Linked DNA regions of Homo sapiens: region 1 is linked to region 2. Evidence: promoter capture Hi-C in human tissues and cell types (Jung and others, 2019). All regions are on one chromosome and are shown on one strand. The core of a region is centred on a gene start or on the middle of the fragment in contact, and the rest is flanking DNA. Distances in the headings are between cores, read along the strand shown. Region 1 overlaps FBXW8 (F-box and WD repeat domain containing 8). Region 2 holds the start of HRK (harakiri, BCL2 interacting protein).

Region 1 (2,817 bases), core at 148-2,647, 40 kb before region 2:
AAAGGGGTCATATTACTTATTTAATTTAAAGTCAGTGAATACTAGATTTTCCCAAAGTCTACTGGACTTACTCCAAAAACACTGAGAGAAATTGCAAAGAGATCCATCCCCAGGGAGGCTGATTTGTATTCCTATGTGCTAATGTAAGACTAATTCTGTAAATGGATTGGTTTTGTGCCTTACTGTTAGAAATTTAATCTGTCTTCTCTTGTTTAATAGAAGAACAGATAATTACTAAGAGCCAAAGCAGTAAAAAGTGAAGAAACTGACTTAAGGTTTTTGTTCCCAATGTACATCTCCAGGGCAAAGAGGACATGAAAGATCTCTCTGGGTGGTGGTTTAAGAAACTGAGAAAAGCACCTTGAGTTCAAAGAAGAGATTTGCAATAACATTTTTACTAAATCTATGACTGAAACTAGTTTCTTTAGGCGTTTATCTCAACTTTCCATGTACTGCAAAAGCTGAGTGGAGTAGACCCACACAATCTCAATCAGAAGAAATAGATGAGTTTCAGTTTCACCTGTGTCTTCTTTGAGAAGAAAAAAACTGGTTGGCTGGGGGAAAAAGGTCTGAAAGGCAGTCGAGATAAATAAGCATCCATTTATAATCCACAATTTGTCTCGAAATATATATTCTTATATACAAAAAGAAAAAAAGTCAGAAATAGGCCAGGCACAGTGGCTCATATCTGTAATCCCAACACTTTGGGTGATTGAGATAGACAGATCATTAGGGGCCAGGAGTTCAAGACCAGCCCAGGTAACATAGTGAGACACTGTCTCTAGACAAAATAAAAATAAATGAGCCAGGTGTGGTGGCATGCACCTGTAGTTCCAGCTACTTAGGAGGCTGAGGTGGGAGGATAGCTTGAGTATGGGAGGTCAAGGCTACAGAGCCATGATCACACCACTGCACTCCAGCCTAGGCAAAAGCGAGAGAGAGCCTGTCTAAAAAAAAAAAAAAAAAAAAAAAAGTCAGAAATACACCAAAATGTTAACAATGGTAGCCTCTAAGCAATTATATTACTAAAGACTTTTATTTTCTTCTATTCTTCTGAATTTCCTAAATATTTCTACAGTGAGCACATGATATTTTCACAGACACAGAAAAGCAACACATTTTTAAAGTAAGGTAACTTATGTTCAAAATACTATCTAAATTCAGGGCCACACCAGGTGCTAGGGGGAGGGAGGTGCTGTTAGCAAGTATATAAGAAATGGTCTACACTCAAAGAGCTAAAATCTTTTATAGAGGTAAGTCATTGTCACGTAAAATGAAATACAGGAGACTACAACAGGCAATATAGATCGTCCCCTAAGGTACTCCAAAGTTCATTAGTAAGCCAGCCATATAGAAGCTGGAAAACATTTCTCCAAACAAACAATGCTACAAAGAGCGGCTAAGCTCCCAAGCAGTCCACAAAAAAACAATTCGTCTCTTAACATTTAACCTAATCCCCATGCCTAGCTATGAGGAAGAGCAAAAGGTATTCAATAAATGTTTGTTGATCACATGTGCGGGTGATATAAGTGAACTATAATACTATAGAATCTAACCAGCTCAGTGCATTGCACACAGTAGATGCACAATAAATGTCCATGGAATTTGATTTATCCTTTTTTTACGAGAATAGGCTTTCCAGCTTCAAGACATATTCTCACTCTCCTGGGGACTCTGGCAAGGAAAGAAGGTAGAAGATGCCAATCTAAAGAAATGCAAGTGCTGGGGGAAATCCCAGGAGGCTGGGTGTGGTGGTGAAGGAGGGTGGTGTGAAGCAAAATGGGCTGGGCCTCTGCTTTGAGCCCCCTTTTAGTCTAAACTGGGATCTGAGCTTTAGGACATGGCGAGGAGAGAAGACAGGAAGAGGAGAAGCTTCAGGTCCCAGAGGGGTACCACAGTGGGTGTGGTTTTTGAAACCACAGTGGGTTTGTGAAAAGAGTAAAGATGTTCACATTAAGGGTCCCAAACACTGCAGGCACATTCCCACCATCAGGATTGGCTATAGAATTTGGGGGGCCTGTTGGTCACAAATGATTAAGATCATTACAAATGATCAAGGCAACAGAGCATTAAACTAAGTGCGGGTCCTGGTCACCACAGAACCTTTGCACTTGCCCGTCTTGGCCTAGAATCCCCTCCCCCAGATCTCTGTATGTTCACTCCTCACCTCCTTTAGGTTCTCCATGAAATGTGACCTTCCCAGAAAGACCCTGTTGGACAGCACTATTTAAAATTACAGCCCCTCCCCTGGCAGATACACTCTATCCTGTCTGCTTATTTCTTCTCCAGAACATTTATTTATTACCTGACAATTATTTGTCCATTGTCTAACTCCCTCTTCCCCAGAATGTAAGTTACACAAGGGCACAGGCTTTTTTCTGCCTTGTTCAATGCTATATTCTCAGTGCCTGGAACAGTGGCTGGTACCAAGAAGACACTTAATAAATATTTGTGGGATATGAATGAAACCCAAGCTGCTTCAAGCAGCAGACCGTTCCAACAAAGACCGCATGTAAGTCACAAGTTGTTCTAGTATACACAGGCATCATTTCAAAAGGTTCGTAAGTGGAGGCCTGCTAATTCACGAATAACATGAAAAAATGAACAGCACTGAGGATAAGAACTTTTTAGTTGGGGGAAAGGGAGAAATTTGGGCTGGAGAAATCACGGAAGAATTAACACAGGAGACAGAACTCAAGCTGAGCTTTAAAAGGCAGGCAAAGAACAGGAAAGAGGAAAGGAAGTTATTCCAGTTAAGTCAATTCATGAGTACACATTTGGTTTGGTTTGCTGTCTCACTGCATATTAGCCAGAAGA
Region 2 (2,766 bases), core at 92-2,591:
GATTTACCTTTAGGCAGCAGAGGCAAGGGCGCCCAAAGCCCACAGGTGCCAGACATAGAAGATGCGCAGTAGGTCTTGGCCATTATGAAGCCTAGAATAATTGGAGCTGGGTGAGGGAAAAGGCCACCAGAATCACACAGTGTTGTGGGCTTTGAGCCCTGACTTTGTTGTCATTTCACCACGCTGTGGGCCAAAAGGGACATTTCTCCTCCTGATCAATTCAGACCAAAACTAAGTTCACAGACTCGAAGAATCTTGGTTATACTCTGCGGTGGGAAGGCAAGAACGGAAGCTCCCTCAGCAGGTTCCAGACTCCCAACTTGGAGCCATCTCTGGACTCATCCCGATGGTCTGAATCCCAAAGTTGTCTGAATCCCAGTCGATTTAAGATCACAGGTTTCATTCTCCCCCACAGAATCCTGACAGCCGCCCAGCCCATCTGAACCTTCACCGTTTGTGACAACTGCAGACGCTCCAGTCTGGAGGTGCACAGGAGTGGCTGTCGGATTGGAAAAGGGGGAATTAAAGTCCCCCGCGCCCCTCCTCTCGCCGACCCCTTAGGGTCTCCACTGCGCATTAAATCGGGGTCATCGCAGAAAACTGTAACGCCATCAGGAAAATAATGTTCACAAAGAAAGCAGACAAGAAGTTTCCCTTTAGAAAGCCCCTTGCGAGGGTCTTTTGGGTGCGGGTGCCGGGCAGCGAGAATGCCTCCGTCCGCGCCCCACGCGAGCTCAGGTGGGCCCATCCAGCCTCCCACCGGGCGCTGGGGGCACTTTAGGGTCAGGTTTCTAGCCAGGCGCTGGGGGCACGTTAGGGTCAGGCTGAAAGCCTACAGGTGCCAAGTCAGACCTGAAACGAGGCAAGTTGGGTGTAATCTGACCCTTCCATAAGATTTTGAATCCACCCACCTCCCCCAAACAAAACAACAGCCTCGGAATATTTTTGAATAATGCAGCCGAATTCAGCATCAGCTTCATCCAAAACGGCAAACAAGCCTTTTTCCCTCGCCAAATCGGAACTCGAGCTGAATTCAGGAAAAGGGGAAGGAGAACAACCTTCCCTCGCGCTCCGCGCCTCCGCGGGGGTCCCCCGAGACCCCCAAAGCCCAGGACCTCCGCTGCGGGGAGCCTTCTCGCGCCGCCCCGCGCCGCGCTCCCCGTCTCCCAAACCTCGCGCTCCCTAGCTGCCGGCGCCGCTAGGGTTAAAAGTTACCTCTCGGTTTCTTCTGCCTGCAGCCCCCCCCCCAACCCCCGGGGGCCGGATGATGTAACCCCCCTCCCCGCCCCCCTCCACCATGTGACACTTTAATTAATAATAGCGCCGTCAGCACAACAAACGCACAACACAAGGAGAAACTTGGTGTCCAGGGGAGGCCCCCGGCGGCTGGAGCGCGGCGGCAGCGGGCGCAGAGGCCGGAGGGAGAGGAGGCGAGGGGCGGCCCGAGCGCGGGGCGGGAGCGAGGCCAGCGGTCATGTGCCCGTGCCCCCTGCACCGCGGCCGCGGCCCCCCGGCCGTGTGCGCCTGCAGCGCGGGTCGCCTGGGGCTGCGCTCGTCCGCCGCGCAGCTCACCGCCGCCCGGCTCAAGGCGCTAGGCGACGAGCTGCACCAGCGCACCATGTGGCGGCGCCGCGCGCGGAGCCGGAGGGCGCCGGCGCCCGGCGCGCTCCCCACCTACTGGCCTTGGCTGTGCGCGGCCGCGCAGGTGGCGGCGCTGGCGGCCTGGCTGCTCGGCAGGCGGAACTTGTAGGAACGCGGGGCTTCTTGGTGGGGCCGGAGCCGAGACCCAGCCGGAGCGAGCAACAGGTACGCGAGCGAGCGAGCGAGAGCCGGGGCGCGGCAGCTGGGCACTGGAGACGCTGGGCTGGCCCGGGAGCGGGAGAGTGGCAAGTTTGGCTTTCTTCTTTTCCCTTCTCCTTCTTCCTCCGTTCTCTTCTCTTGCAAGCATCTCCACCTCTCCTCTTCTACCCAGTCCCCAGTCTTCCCTTCCAAGTGTAAGGTCCACCGTTTCTGCCCCCATCTCTGCGAGTCCTTAAGCGCATCTTGCTACTCACTTATAGCTCAGTGGCTTGCGGAGGACTTCAGCCTCCATAATCCCCACCAGCCCCACAAATAAACACACAATGCAAGTAAAAAGTGTGCTTGCTATGGGAATGTAGTTGTAAGCCACGCCAAATACTTAAAATCTATCGCACTTCCAAGAAAGGTCCCCGGTCCCGTTCCAATCCTCTTGCCGTTCCTGAGTCGCCCCCGTCTCCATCACCTTTGCTCCCAACCTCTTGTCCCTAAGTGTCACTTCTCCAATCTCTGATCCCCATTATCTGGCACCCCAAGCGCATCTCGAGACTTCCTCCCCCTCCAGGTTTCTGGCTGGCCCAATCTTTCTTCCCAAGCTCCGCGCATTTGCAATTTTCCTCTGCCCTGCCAACTTCGCTCCTTCTCGAGTGAGGTGTCCTGTTTAAGGAGTTTGGCTTCCTTCTCCCCAGACGGTTGTAGCTGCTACGGGAAGGAGACGCCCTCGGAGTGGGCTGGAATAGGGGGCTTTCAGGGAAACTCCAATGGGAAGCCTTAAGGAAGGAACATTTATTGAGCTCCTTCGGGGTGCTGGGCACTGTTTAGGGAGGTCATGTGTTGAGAACTTAGGACAGGAAGTGGGTACTGAGCACCTAGTGTGGTTGGTATCAGTGGGAGGAAGGTACTAGGCTCTTGGGGTGGGGGGATCATTGTGCCCTAGCTGTGCGCCTGGCACTGTGCTAGGCGCTTTGA

The links. Contacts are between HindIII fragments. The study calls those that stand out against the background at their distance.
Region 1: a contact is called between a fragment that was not itself captured here and the fragment with the promoter of HRK in region 2, in 1 of the 25 tissues and cell types used here (spleen).

Annotation. Positions count from the first base shown.
Region 1 is chr12:116,919,979-116,922,795 of GRCh38, reverse strand. The region is part of intron 1 of FBXW8 (F-box and WD repeat domain containing 8); the gene reads right to left. Among named protein-coding and RNA genes, the nearest start is that of FBXW8, 10 kb to the right of the region's middle. The HindIII fragment of the contact is 5,174 bases long and covers 1-2,817 here.
Region 2 is chr12:116,880,016-116,882,781 of GRCh38, reverse strand. It overlaps HRK (harakiri, BCL2 interacting protein), which reads left to right and starts at 1,341. Exons shown (of 2, transcript NM_003806.4): 1 at 1,341-1,806. The coding sequence starts at 1,475. The coding sequence ends at 1,750. RefSeq lists an enhancer at 187-1,148 and silencers at 1,654-1,733, 2,612-2,766. The HindIII fragment of the contact is 18,466 bases long and covers 1-2,766 here.